Linked DNA regions of Homo sapiens: all the other regions are linked to region 3. Evidence: promoter capture Hi-C in 16 types of primary human blood cells and fetal thymus (Javierre and others, 2016). All regions are on one chromosome and are shown on one strand. Each heading gives the region's core, a stretch centred on a gene start or on the middle of the fragment in contact. The rest is flanking DNA. Distances are from core to core; before and after follow the strand shown. Region 1 overlaps IFFO1 (intermediate filament family orphan 1). Region 2 overlaps ATN1 (atrophin 1). Region 3 holds the start of ZNF384 (zinc finger protein 384). Region 4 overlaps LRRC23 (leucine rich repeat containing 23). Region 5 overlaps NCAPD2 (non-SMC condensin I complex subunit D2).

Region 1 (2,700 bases), core at 98-2,597, 150 kb after region 3:
GGGGCTGCCCTTTGGGAGTTACCTGGTGGGGCTGGCCCAGACCCACAGCTCTCTCCCTTGGCAGTTGGATGAGCTATGTCCATTCATGACGGGAGGGCTGAAACCTCCCAAGGCCACCAGCTCTGGTGGTTCCCCTGGTTAGAGGCAGTTTAAAAACTGGCAAGGAACAGAAGGGTTGTGGGGGCAGATTTTTATCTAAAGTCAGGGCCATGATTTGTGCATTTGACCCTGTGTAAGTTACACCGCAACAAGAAAGTGAATTTTTAAAAATCACAAAAATACTGCAGATAGACATAAAGCCAAGGCCCTAGAGTCAGGGTGCTGGAGGCTCAGCAGCTTCTCTCCTACTGTGACTTCAGCTATTTCTTTTTTTTTTTTTTTTGGCTCACTACAACCTCCGCCTCCCAGGTTCAAGTGATTATCTTGCCTCAGCCTCCAAGGCGCCCGCCACCACACCTGGCTAATTTTTGCATTTTTAGTAGAGATGGGGTTTCACCATGTTGGCCAGGCTTGCCTTGAACTCCTGACGTCGTGATCCACCCGCCTCTGCCTCCCAAAGTGCTGGAATTACAGGCGTGAGCCATCATGCCTGACCTCAGCCTCTGAGTTCCCAAGACACAGGCGGGGCCCATTTCCCTGTCAGGGTGGGTTTGGAGAGAGTTCAGTCCCTGCCGCTCCCTCGCCATCCCGCGGCCCCGCCCTCGCTTCCGGTACTTCTCACGGGCTGCCAGAGGGTGAGGCAGCAGGAGGAGGAGTGCCGTCCGTCTTCAGGATTCCTGCCTGCCCCAAGGTTGACAACTGGTGTTTTTTTCTAGAAAGTCTCCTGCTTTCACTGCGGTCCCGCTTAGCGACCCGCCGCCGCCGCCAAGCGAGGCTGAGGACTCCGATCGCGATGTCTCATCTGACAGCTCCATGAGATAGAGACCTGCCTCCCCCTTGCACCCGAGGCCCTCGCAGCAGGGAGCTCAGCGAGGCAGAGGGTGGGGCTGCACAGAGGGGAACATCAGCTGCAGCTCTGCACCAGGCCGGTCCCTGGGGACTGGGGCGCTCCTCCCTCAGGCTTTCTCCCTCAGTCTTGGCTTCTCCAGGGCTCTGGGGTGTCTGGAGCTAGGCTTGGCCCTACCATTCTGGGGCCATTTCCACCACAGTTGGGGCTCTCCTGCCTTCACGCGTGGGTGTCTGCTACTTCCCCATCTTTAAAATGCTGCCAGAGCGATTGCGGCCCCTCACCTTGTCCACGTATCAGGAATGTGAATGTGGGACCTTTCCTCCATCCCTGTTGTCCGGAGCCAGCTCACTGTCTTCCACACTGGTGCTAACTGGCCCAGGCACTGGAGTGGAATAGAATGCAGCTGGAGGCTACGCATGGCCTCTGCAGCACACGCAGCTGGAGAGGGCTTCTGTCCCTGTCAGCGGCAGAGGGCGTTGGGGCTGGCCGGGGCACCTTGTCCCTGCTATGGTCCACGTGCTCACGCTGTCCACCTGCCAGGTGGAGTGTATGTGGCTGTGGCCCTCCCTCGTGGAGGTGCCGTGCTTTAAAGAGGCCTTAGTGCCCGGGATGGGCACAGTGTTTTGAAGGGAGGTGGGAGCTCTTGCTCTCCTGGTCACTGCAGAATGACAGAGAAGGTGAAGCTCCATGCATGTGTGCGCGGGTGTATGTGCGCTCAGGGTCTCTGTTTAAGTATCAGCTAAAGATGTGCTTCCTCCGTGTCTGTCATACACTGAGACCAACAGGCTACAGTGTCCCTGATTCTTGGAAAAGCCTGGAGAAGCTGGGGAGATGCGGTTCACAATGCCTCGGTATAGGAGGCTGTGTTGAGCTGACATTCAAATGGATTCTTTAATAATAATGAAACTGGCGAGTATTTATTGTGCACTTTGGTGTCACTGTCTCAAGCACTTCCTAATATTCACTAGTTTGAACTCTGAGGTAGGTACTTTTTTTTTTTTTGAGATGGAGTCTCATACTCTGTTGCCTAGGCTGGAGTGCAGTGGTGTGGTCTCAGCTCACTGCAGCCTCTGCCTCCGGGGTGCAAGCGATTCTCCTGCTTCAGCATGCCTGTAGCTGGGACTATAGGCATGTGCCATGAAGCCTGGCTGATTTTTGTAATTTTAGTAGAGACGGAGTTTCACCATGTTGGCCAGGCTGGTCTCAAACTCCTGACCTCAGGTGATACACCCACCTTGGCCTCCCAAAGTGCTGGGGTTACAGGCGTGCGCGCTCTACCGAGGTATGTACTTTTGTCTCCACTAGGTAAGCACACGTGCAAAGTGAGGCCCGGGAGTAACTGCCCAAAGCAACTGAGCCGTTCAGTGGCAGAGCCAGGGGTCTGGACCTAGGTCCCAGCTACACGCCTTGCCCCTACCCAAGTTCCCCTAAGGACGATGATGGAAATAAGTCACCCTGACACATCTCAGTTCATCTTCCTCAAAACTATGCGAGGTGGGCATTTTTACCGATTTTTAAACATTATATAGTCCTTACCGCCTTGGGCATGGTTTTAGGTACTTGGTTTACCTAGATGAATCCTGCTTGAAGACCTTAGGGGCTGGCCACGATGTCCTCAGATAAGACACGAGGGCACAGAAAGCAATAGAGCACGTGCTCAAGACCTCACAGCTGCGGAGGCCAAGCTGGAATTGCCCGCTGCAGCTCAGCTCCAGGCTGAGCTCCACTAACCAGTCAGCGTCAGAGCCCAG
Region 2 (2,700 bases), core at 22-2,521, 240 kb before region 3:
TCAGAAGTTGCTGGGGAGAATTCTCAGAAGGCCTAGATCAGTCACAGAGATATGAAAAGAATCTTTTCTCACATCAGAGTAGGTAGAAGAAGAATGTCCCATTCTATAATACAAAGGAACACAGCCCTACCAATCCCAAGACTAAACCTAGGTAGCCCCAAATTGTAGAACTTCATTTTTGAGAGCCCCATAAAGGACCCATTCTCTAGTACTTGAGCTCCCTAAGGCTAGAGGAAAAGTCAGGGTTTTCACATGAATGATTAAAGACTCAAAATATCCGTGAGCAAACAACACAGATGTACCAGTTTTTAAGCCTATCCTCCTACTTGGTGTAGACTGGGTTACACAGTTTCTCACAGCCAATCCATCCGTATCTGTCTATCAGCAGGTATCTATCTTTATCCAAATCCCTATAGCCAGCTGTATTCATTTGCACTTGTTTGTATTTCTTGCTAAGTGTCAAGTCCCTCCAAATTACTGATTGTAAGATCTTTTGAGAGCAAAAATGGTATTTTCTTACTGTTTTCTTCCTTTCCACTGATGTGTGTGCGCTCTTCTTGTGATTGACCTTTAAACCCACTAACATCAGTAGGTCTTTCTTCCTGAATTAAGTGCTGCTAGCTCCAGTGGGAACAGACTAAGCTTACCCATGTATTCTATTCTGAGTTGGAGGCCTGCTAGGTAAACGGCATGTCCATATTCTGTAGTGTATTTTTTCCCAAGAAACACAGTAATTCTCACTCACCTCCACGGAACCATACTGATGCAGGCAGTAAGGGGTGAGTCTAACCTTTCCAGGAAACTTCACAATTTACTTAGAATCACAAAATTGCTGGGACAGAGCCTATCTTCTGAACTTTCAACTGATGCTCTGCCCAGTAGACTTGTCTTTTTTTTTTTTTTTTTTTTTTTTTTTGAGACAGAGTTTCACTCTTGTTGCCCAGGCTGGAGTGCAGTGGCGTGATCTCACTCACTGCAACCTCTGCCTCCCAGGTTCAAGCGATTCTCCTGCCTCAGCCTCCTGAATAGCTGGGATTACAGGCATGCACCACCACACCCGGCTAATTTTTTGTATTTTTAGTAGAGACAGGGTTTCACCATGTTAGTCAGGGTGGTCTCGAACTACTGACCTCAGGTGATCTGCCTGCCTCGGCCTTCCCAAGTGCTGGGATTACAGGCGTGAGCCACTGTGCCCGGCCAACTAGTTTTCTTTTTTTTTCCTTTTTTTTTTTTTTGAGATGGATCTTTGCTCTTGTTCCCCAGGCTGGAGGTGCTATGGCATGATCTCAGCTCACTGCCACCTCCGCCTCCCAGGTTCAAGCGATTCTCCTGCCTCAGCCTCCCAAGTAGCTGGGATTACAAGCGCACACCACCACACCTGGCTAATTTTTGTATTTTTAGTAGAGACGGAGTTTCACCATGTTGACCAGGCTGGTCTCGAACTCCTGACCTCAGATGATCCACCTGCCTCAGCCTCCTAAAGTGTTGGGATTACAGGCGTGAGCCACCATGCCCGGCCTTTTTTTTTTTTTTTTTTTTTTCAACTACAGCTATTTTCCCACATTTTTTAGTTGTTATGTAGACTGGTTTTAAAATACTATCAACCAAAAAAAAAAAAAAATCCGAAGAACAACACCCACCATAGCAAAAGAGGAAAACAATCTTAAACAAAAAGCACAACAAAGATGACTATTTGTGATTGGTGTATTTTTGCCAGCCCTCCTAGAGAAGGGTGTCCATCTCCCTTCCCCATCACAGAACCTGTTCACCAAGTCAGTTAGGTTAGGGGATCCAAAAGGTCAGAGAAACACAGGAATGTACCTGAGGAACACAGCAATCATAGTATGCCCTTCTTTTTTAATCACCTGAAATCTGATAAAAACTAGCAATGAGAAGCTTTGAAGGAGAAAAGCAGTCATAAAAGAACAAGTAATCCTGGGGATAAGGAGTGGCAGACGAGGAAAGGAGTTAGGGGTGGATTGTGTGTCTTTCTAGACCTGGGTCATGTTTTAGCACCAGCCTACACTCCTAGCAGGCAATCACTGTAACTAATATTACAGAGCACCTACTCTGTATCTGGCCACATACTAAGCACATTCACCTTCATTACCTTGCTTTATTTTATTTATTTATTTATTTATTTATTTATTGAGACGGAGTCTCACTCTGTCACCCAGGCTGGAGTGCCGTGCCGCGATCTCGGCTCGGCTCACTGCAAGCTCCACCTCCCGGGTTCACGCCATTCTCCTGCCTCAGCCTCCTGAGTAGCTGGGACTACAGGCGCCCGCCACCACGCCCGGCTAATTTTTTTGTATTTTTACTAGAGACGGGGTTTCACCGTGTTAGCCAGGATGGTCTCAATCGCCTGACCTCGTGATCCGCCCGCCTCAGCCTCCCAAAGTGCTGGGATTACAGGCGTGAGCCACTGCGCACTGCCATTACCTTACTTTAAAAAGAAAATGATTAAGACCAGACTGGGTTGGGAGGAAAGTGAGAACTAGAAAAAGAGCCCCTAAGTAAGAACAGGAAAAGAAATTAAGAGAGAAATATGGGATGTCAGAAGGAATACAGTGGAGTCACAAGCTCTCTGGGAGGGGCTCGCAGGCTAAATTTCAGGATCATTGGCCCAGCCCCCAACATCATTCTGGACCTGCCAGACTAACAAACCAGTCCAAAGTGACTCCTAGATAACAATGCAGC
Region 3 (2,700 bases), core at 138-2,637:
CTGTCATCCCAGCTGCTAGGGAGGCTGAGGCAGGAGAATCGCTTGAACCCAGGAGGCAGAGGTTGCAGTGAGCCAAGATGGCGCCAATGCACTCCAGCCTGGGCAACAGGGTGACACTCTGTCTTTAAAAAAAAAAAAAAAAGGTTATTTTTCTCAGCAAGAGGCTCTTACCATTAGTAGGAGAGACCTCAGTTCTGCTTAGAGCTGAGCCCAGGGGGATTCTGGCCAGGTCGGGGTGCACGCTTGTAACAGCATTCACTTGTTCAAACAACATATTCAGCATTTACTATATGCTCAGCAAAGCAACGTATTTCCTTCCATGAGGAACTGACAATCTTGCTGGGGAATCACATGTATGAAATAGTTAAAATATCAATAAAAGGTACGTATTAAATACTATGGGAATTCAGAGGGACCATTACAGGTTGGAGCAATCAGGCAAGGCTTCCTAAAAGGGTTCATATTTAGGTGTTCATAATGAACTATAGTTCATTTATACAACAAGAGTTTACAGACCACTTAACTGCCAGGATATGAGGATACAGCAACGAACAATTCAGTCCTCGCTGTCCTGTAGCCAATATTTTAGTTGGGAGAGGTGGACAGCAAACAATAAATCAGGCAGTAATAAGTGCTATATTTAAGTAAAACAGGGTAAGGGGATAGAGATGTGGGTATGGGCAACAAGAAAAGACCAAAGTAAAGTAAGGGATGTGTCAGAGAGACAGATTTTGATGGCTGGGAGAGTTTCTAACTGGACCTAAGTAGGGACCTCCGAAAAACAAGGATACGTCCTAGTCCTTTCCCGCATATTCAAAGCATTGAGACATTCTTGGGGGTATCAGAAAAAATAATGGTAATTTCCTACATCAGCTTATTCAACATCCAGAGGGAAGAGAAACGGGGTCCCAGCATCTGAAGAACCCACACCTCCTCTCCTACCTTGATGGATAATTCATGAACCTGTCGCGTTTCCACCCCCCCACCTTCCCCAGATGTCCCTTCCGGAAGCTCAGGGCCGGAGTCCTCCGGTTTCAGCTTTTGCCCCTAGCGGAACCCGCCTTCACTTCCGCTATAGCGTCACATCCCCTCTTCCCAGTCGCTGGGCAGAAGCTATTTCCGCCCCGAGTTATCGTAACTTCTGCCCTGAATATCTCGCAGCGCTAGCGGCGCCGGAAGTGTTCCAGCCACTCCCGGAAGTGACTCGGCTTCTGCACGCCCCTCTTTCTCCATTAGCGCCCCCCCTACATTGCTATTTCCCTCCCTCCCCCCTTTTCGTTTCCGGCGCTCCCGCCTTCTCTCCGCAGAGCTCTTCTCTGAGCCTGTTGGGGGGAGGGAGGGGGGCGTGGAGGAACTGGGGTTCGCGGGAGCACGAGCTGCAGCACCACTTCCGGGTGAGTGCAAGGGGAGGGCAGCAAGGAGGGGGGGCCACCCACTACCTCGCGCCCCCGCCCTGCGGGTGTCTCGCGCGCGTTCCGTGCGTGTGAGTGTGTGGGTCTGTCTCGCTCCAGAAGTGCGTGCCCGCGCGCTGCGCCTTGCGCTTTTTCCCCTCCCTCGCCCCTTCCTGGTCCTCCCACCCTCCTCGGCTCCCTCCTTTCCCAGCAAACGCCGCCCCTCCCGCGCCCTGGCTCAGGCTCTGGCGCCGCCGCAGCCGTCGCCGCCCGGTGAGTCTCGCGCCGCTACAGCCGGCGCGCGCCAAGCTGCTTGCTCCTCCCCCCTCCCCTTTTCCTTGGGCAGGCGGGGAAGGGGGGGTCCACGATGTGACTGTGTGTGTGTCCGTCCCGGAACCGGAAGTGGTTGTGGAGGAGCGGGCGATGGGAAGGAATGGGGGGGTTTAGGGGGCGGGTGCCTGTCTGGTGGGTGGCAGAGTTCAGCTCCCTGGAGGGGAAGGAGGGACGTCCCAAGGAAGGGTCTTTGAGAAAGGGGTAGGGGACGACATCAGGAGAAGGCTCCCAGGAACTGTCTCAGGGGAGCGAAGGTTTTGAGGGGACAGCTGGGGTCTCCAGTAGATAGACCACGGTGCAGGCTGAGGGAGGTACTTCTTGGCACAAGGCCTCGGGTAGGCAGGGGGCGAAGTCCTCGAAGAAGTGGGGGGAAGGCTAGAGGAAGTGGCTGGGCCTGAACTGGCACTGTGCCTGCCACAAGGTCTTGTGCATCCCCCAGCCCTCAGCTTTGCCTTCTGAAGCCACTCCTCAGGGGCACAGACCCTCCTCCTCCTCCATCTCTAATGTTCTCTGACCCCTGGTTACCTGTGGCCTGGGAACGAACAAGGACCAGTCTCTGAGCCTAGGAGTGAAACCCAAACGCTGGTGATAGAATTCGTCTTAGTTTCTGGGAATTGGATTTATTTCTCTTGTATCCACGTAGAGGGTAGCACTAGACTGCTGTTATTATATCCACCCGTCTTTGGATTGCTGGCTGGGGGGTCTGCCTGCCTTCCAGACTGACTGCTGACAAATAATTCCTGAGGTTCTCCACAGTTCTCTGGTGGCTGCACCCTGCCTGGCCCCTGTAACCTAGACAATTTGTTTACAGAAAGTTCAGGAGCCCTGGAAAGGAGAAGGAATAAGACGGCAGGAGGAAGAGAGAGAGAGGGTAAGATGATTTTTGGGTTAATGGCTTTTCTGGTTTTGGGGGAGAAGGGGTCACAACCAAATGGGGCGTGTGTGTGTTTCACAATGTGATAGAATACTTAAAGTA
Region 4 (2,700 bases), core at 170-2,669, 220 kb before region 3:
TGCCTCATTATATGATACTCTGTTTTTATTTTATTTTTATTGAGACAGGGTCTCACTATGTCACCCCGGTTGGGGGTGCAGTGGCATGATCATAGCTCACTGCAGCCTTGAATTCCTGGGCTCAAGTGATCCTCTCACCTTAGCTTCCTAAGTACCTCCAGGCATGTGCCACCACACCTGGCTAATGTTTAAATTTTTTGTAGAGACTGGGTCTCACTATGTTGCCCAGGTTTGTCTTGAACGCCTGGCCTCAAGCAGTCCTCTTGCCTTGGCCCCCCCAAAGTGCTGGGATTACAGGCGTGAGCCACCATGCCTGGAATTTTATTTATTTTCATGTTCTGGCTTTAAGCTTTTATGAAATCTATTTAAGTGTTTCAGCCTGATCTCATGGTCGTGCTGAGCCTCATGCAGTGTTTCTCACCAGGAGGGCTACAGGAACTTTGTACTGGACTCTGCCATACATTGTTGGATGCTTAGCATCTCTGGCCCCAGAGGCACCTGCCAATCATTGAGACACCCTCACCCCCCTCCACACACACACCCGACTTACTCTCAAAACATCCCCATTTAATAGCCACTCAGGAAGGGTCCATCATGCCTGTCTAGATCATTAACAGGAAGATGGCACAGATACACACCCCACCAGATCCGTGTGGCAGAGTTCATGAATAAGAGAATGCCCAGGGGGTCAGGATGAGAGTTGGGGCTTCCAGATGCAACCACCTCTCCCTACTTGGAGATGCTCTTTCCATTACCAGCTCAAGAATCTGGTCTTGTTGACTAAGGAAAGAGGCAGTTTCCTTACATGTTTGCTGAAATAAACACACATAAAGTCCTCCATCCGACAAGAGTTGCTGATCTTCAGTGCCTTTCTACCAAAAGATTTTCTTACAAATGTCCTTCTCTCCTCAAATCTGAGCACATCTTGTGTTTTTTTAATCAGTAAAAAGGTCATCCCTTACAGGTGGGGCTCAGGAGAAGAGAGGCAGGAAATGGGAAGGTGAATTGGGACCGAGGAAATGGAGAAGGGCAGTGGAAACTTATATAGGATAGGGTGAGGAAAAAAGAGTTGGAGCCAGACTGTGAGCCCCTTAGGAACAGGAATCACCTCTGATTCCTTTCTTTCTTTTAGAGACAGCTCACTCTGTCACCCAGGCTGGAGTGCAGTGGCACAATCATGGCTCACTGCAACCTTGAACTCCTGGGCTCAAGTGATCCTCCAACCTCAGCCTCCTGAGTAGCTGAAACCACAGGTGTGCACCACCAGGCTCAGTTAATTTTTATTTTTAATTTAATATTTTAATTTTTATTTAATATTTTATTTTTGTTTTGTTTTTGAGGCAGGGTCTGGCTCTGTCACCCAGGCTGGAGTGCAGCGGCTTTATCTCAGCTCACTGCAAACTCCACCTCGAGGCTCCAGCGATCCTCCCGCCTAAGTCTCCTGAGTAGCTGGGATTACAGGTGCCTGTCACCATGCCTGGCTAATTTTTGTATTTTTGGTAGAGATGGGATTTTGCCATGTTGCCCAGACTGGTCTTGAACTCCTAGGCTCCAACGATCTGCCCACTTCGGCTTCCCAAAGTGCTAGAACTACAGGTGTGAGCCACCATGCCGGGCCATTATTTTCACTTCTGTAGAAACATGGTCTCACTAGGTTGCCCAGGCTGGTCCTGAACTCCTGGCCTCAAGTGATCCTTCCTCCTAAAGTGCTGGGAGTACAGGCATGAACCACCATGCCCAGCCTCTGATTGCTTTAAATGTCCCCAAAACACAGCACAAGGCCTGGCACATAGCACATTCTCAATAATTGTGGATTGAATGAATAAAAATTCAGGGGTCACAAGCTATAAGGGATTTAGTGTTGCAACTCAGTGCAGAAGAAAGGAAGGAAAGCCGGGCTTTCCTTGAGAATCCAGCTGTGGGCTAGGACTGGGGGATTGGGCCAGGGAAGAACACAGACTCAAAAGCTGCACCTGGTCAGGGGTAGGGGCAAGGTGGGGCTTGGAGAGGGTGCATACCTCAGGTTGAGGTACTGCAATGATTTCATTTCTCTGGAGAAGCCACTCAGGGTGTCAATCTGGTTGTCTCGAAGATGCAAGGTGGTGAGATTGCTCAGATCCTCCAAGCCTTCCACCTTCTTCAGCATGTTTTGGGCCTAGACCCCCAGGGCACAGTGGATTGATTGAGAGGGAGCAGGGATAGGGAAGAAAGAGAAGTCAGAATGAGATAAAGCAAAAGAGGAAATCCAAGAGGTAGAGAGGGAGGAGTGGAAGAAAGGAGTGGGGGTGAGTAGAGATCAGTATAGAAAGTAAAGAAGTTCAGGAGAAGCTGCCATCCCAGAGAAAGGTCAGCAGTAACCCTCTACCATTCGCCCCATCAAAGCCACTTGGGATGGAGGAGATGCTTCAACCCACCCCTACCCGGCCCAGGAGCCCCCAGGCCACCACTGAGGATTGGCATCAGCACCATCCCAGAATAACGAAGCTTAAGAGTCTAAAAGACTAAATATTTCAGTGGCTTCCTGTGGAGTTATTATATATATAATATATAATATATTATATAATATATAAAATATATATTATATATTATATATTATATACTATTATATATAATATTTATATATTATATATAATATACTATTATATATAATATTTATATATTATATAAAATATATTATATATAATATACTATTATATATAT
Region 5 (2,700 bases), core at 100-2,599, 190 kb after region 3:
GTCCATTTAGCTCCTTCATTCGCTTTCTGCCCCAATGACTGCTTCTTAATTTCTTCTACTGGTTCTTCTTCATCCTCCTAGCCTCTAAATGCTGGACTGTCTCAGGTCTTGGTCTTCAAACTGCTGCTCTTCTCCATCTACACTCACTGCAATCTCATGGCTTTAAGTGCTGTCTACACGCTGAGTATTAAATCCTAAATGTGTATCTTTAGCTGACAACCTCTCCCTTGAACTCTGCACTCACATAACCAACAATCTAAACCTCTCCCTCCCATATGCTACCCCATCTCAGTAAATGGCAACTTCATTCTTCTAGTTGCTCAAGTCAAAAAGCCTTGTAAGGCCGGGTGTGGTGGCCCACGCCTGTAATCCCAACATTTTGGGAGGCCGAGGCAGGCAGATCACTTGAGGCCAGAAGTTCAAGACCAGACTGGACAACACGGCAAAACCGCATCTCTACTAAAAATACAAAAATTAGCCAGGTGTCGTGACCCTGGGAGGCGGAGCTTGCAGTGAACCGAGATGGTGCCACTGCACTCCAGCCTGGGCGAGAGAGCGAGACTCTGCCTAAAAAAAAAAAAAAAAAAAAAAAAAAAAAAAATTAGCCAGGCGTGGTGGTGCACACCTGTAATCCTAGATACTCAGGTGGCTGAGGCATGAGAATTGCTTGAACCTGGGAGGCAGAGGTTGCAGCGAGCCAAGATCACGCCACTGCACGCCAACCTGGGTGACAGAGCCAACAGAGCAAGACTGTCAAAAAAAAAAAAAAAAAGCCTTGTAATCATTCTCATCTCAGATTCCTTTACTAACCCTATAATCCAATCCAATCCATCAGCATTCCTGTAAAAGCTCTACTTTGAAAATATATCCTGAGTCGTTTTATCACCACTTCCCCTGCTATCCCTCCAGTCCAATCTACTTGGTATTACTGTATTAGCCACTTAACTAGTATCCCTGCTTCTCTCCTTGCCTCTTATAGTCTCTGCTCAACACAGTCGCCAGTGAATCTTTTAAAATGTCAGACCATGTCACTCCCATGCTCAAAACCCAATGGCTTTCAAGTTCATTCACACTGAAGTTCAAGTTTTTGCCATGATCTACGAGGCTCTAGAGATCAGTGCTTCTCAAGCTTATAATTGCATCCAAATTGCCTGGGGGAATCTTCTTAAAATACAGATTTCCTGATTCAGCAGCTTTGACATCCTGGGCCTTGACATCCTGCATTTCTAATAAGCTCCCAGATCATGAGATCCTGATATTAACACTGCTGATCTGAGGACCACATTTTGAGGAGCAAGATTCTAGAATAATCTGTACCACTTCCTACCTAATCTCTTTTTCCTAGCTTAATGCACTCCAACTCTATTGGCATTTGCCCACCTCAAGGCCTTTGCATAGGCTTTTCTGTTTGCTTGGAATGCTCTTCCCTAACAATCTGCATAGTTTATTTCCTTACTTTCTTAAGGTCTCTGCTCAAACGTGACGTAACAGCAAGCCTTCTCTGATGATCCAACATGAAATGACAGGTCCTACTATCTTCTTCTTTATATTATTTATTTTTAAGCTTTGTATAATTAATTTTAGAGACTATGTTGCCCAAGCTGGTCTTGAACTCCTGGCCTTAACAATCCTGCTTCTGCCTCCCAAGTGGTTGGGATTACAGGGACAAGCCACCATTCCCAGTACACTTCTTTTTTTTTCTTTTTTGAAACAGGGTCTAGCTCTGTGGCCAGGTTGCAGTGCAGTGGCATGATCATGGCTCACTGCAGCCCCTGCCTCCTGGGCTCAAGCAATTCTCCCACCCCAGCCTCCCAAGTAGCTGGAACTACAGGTGTGCACCACCACGCCTGGCTAACTTTTTTGTAATTTTGGTAGAGATGGGGTTTCACCATGTTGGCCAGGCTGGTCTCAAACCCCTGAGCTTGAGCAATCCAACCACCTTGGCTTCCCAAAGTGCTAGGATTACAGGTGTGAGCCACTGCGCCTGGCCACACTGTCTTCTTTATTTTTCTCTTTGGCTCTTACAACCATCTTACACACAGTGGTCCTCACCAATCTGTGTTCTCACTTTCTGGGGTTTCAGTTACCCGTGGTCAATCTCAAGTCTGAAAATATTAAATGAAATATTCCAGAAATAGGCTGGGCACAGTAGCTCACGCCTATAATCCCAGAACTTTGGGAGGCCAAGTTGGGCAGATCACCTGAGGTCAGGAGTTCGAGACCAGCCTGGCCAACATGGTGAAACCCCAGCTCTACTAAAAAATACAAAAAAAATTAGCTGGATGTGGTGGTGGGCACCTGTAATTCCAGCCACTTGGGAGGCTGAAGCAGGAGAATTGCTTGAACCTGTGAGGTGGAGGGTGCAGTGAGCCGATACCTTGCCACTGCACTCCAACCTGGGCGACAGAGCAAAACTCCGTCTCCAGAACAACAAAAAAACCCCCCAAGAATTAGCCAGGCGTGGTGGCACTTACCTGTAGTCCCAGCTGCTTGGGAAACTGAGGCAGGAGAATTGCTTGAGCCCAGGAGGTGAAGGTTGCAGTGGGCTGAGATTGAGCCACTGCACTCCAGCCTGGTCAACAAAGCAAGACCCTTATCTTAAAAAAATAAAAAGAAAGAAAGAAAGAAATATTCCAGAGATACACAATTCATAAATTGTAGGTTGTGTGTCATTCTGAGTAGCATAAAATCTGGTGCTGC

Evidence for each region. The method cuts DNA at HindIII sites, captures the fragments that hold promoters and counts their contacts. A CHiCAGO score of 5 or more calls a contact.
Region 1: a contact is called between a fragment that was not itself captured here and the fragment with the promoter of ZNF384 in region 3, in 4 of 17 cell types (naive B cells, non-activated CD4 T cells, erythroblasts and 1 more). The highest score is 7.9, in naive B cells.
Region 2: a fragment that was not itself captured here is called in contact with the fragment with the promoter of ZNF384 in region 3 in 3 of 17 cell types (non-activated CD4 T cells, activated CD4 T cells and naive CD4 T cells); the score reaches 9.6 in non-activated CD4 T cells.
Region 4: a fragment that was not itself captured here is called in contact with the fragment with the promoter of ZNF384 in region 3 in 4 of 17 cell types (activated CD4 T cells, naive CD4 T cells, non-activated CD4 T cells and 1 more); the score reaches 8.6 in activated CD4 T cells.
Region 5: a fragment that was not itself captured here is called in contact with the fragment with the promoter of ZNF384 in region 3 in 5 of 17 cell types (total B cells, naive CD4 T cells, non-activated CD4 T cells and 2 more); the score reaches 6.6 in total B cells.

Annotation. Positions count from the first base shown.
Region 1 is chr12:6,538,704-6,541,403 of GRCh38, reverse strand. It overlaps IFFO1 (intermediate filament family orphan 1), which reads left to right. Exons shown (of 10, transcript NM_001193457.2): 10 at 816-1,865. The coding sequence ends at 921. Among named protein-coding and RNA genes, the nearest start is that of GAPDH, 5.5 kb to the right of the region's middle. RefSeq lists enhancers at 525-664, 695-844, 1,625-1,834. The HindIII fragment of the contact is 6,612 bases long and covers 1-2,700 here.
Region 2 is chr12:6,930,251-6,932,950 of GRCh38, reverse strand. All of the region lies in intron 1 of ATN1 (atrophin 1), which reads right to left. Among named protein-coding and RNA genes, the nearest start is that of ATN1, 3.6 kb to the right of the region's middle. The HindIII fragment of the contact is 1,254 bases long and covers 645-1,898 here.
Region 3 is chr12:6,688,062-6,690,761 of GRCh38, reverse strand. ZNF384 (zinc finger protein 384) reads left to right here and starts at 1,387. Exons shown (of 12, transcript NM_001385745.1): 1 at 1,387-1,664; 2 at 2,536-2,595. RefSeq lists silencers at 1,269-1,348, 1,429-1,538 and an enhancer at 909-1,535. The HindIII fragment of the contact is 17,984 bases long and covers 1-2,700 here.
Region 4 is chr12:6,909,345-6,912,044 of GRCh38, reverse strand. It overlaps LRRC23 (leucine rich repeat containing 23), which reads right to left. Exons shown (of 8, transcript NM_001135217.2): 6 at 2,019-2,155. Among named protein-coding and RNA genes, the nearest start is that of ENO2, 3.9 kb to the left of the region's middle. The HindIII fragment of the contact is 2,135 bases long and covers 352-2,486 here.
Region 5 is chr12:6,499,129-6,501,828 of GRCh38, reverse strand. All of the region lies in intron 2 of NCAPD2 (non-SMC condensin I complex subunit D2), which reads right to left. Among named protein-coding and RNA genes, the nearest start is that of NCAPD2, 6.4 kb to the right of the region's middle. The HindIII fragment of the contact is 435 bases long and covers 1,132-1,566 here.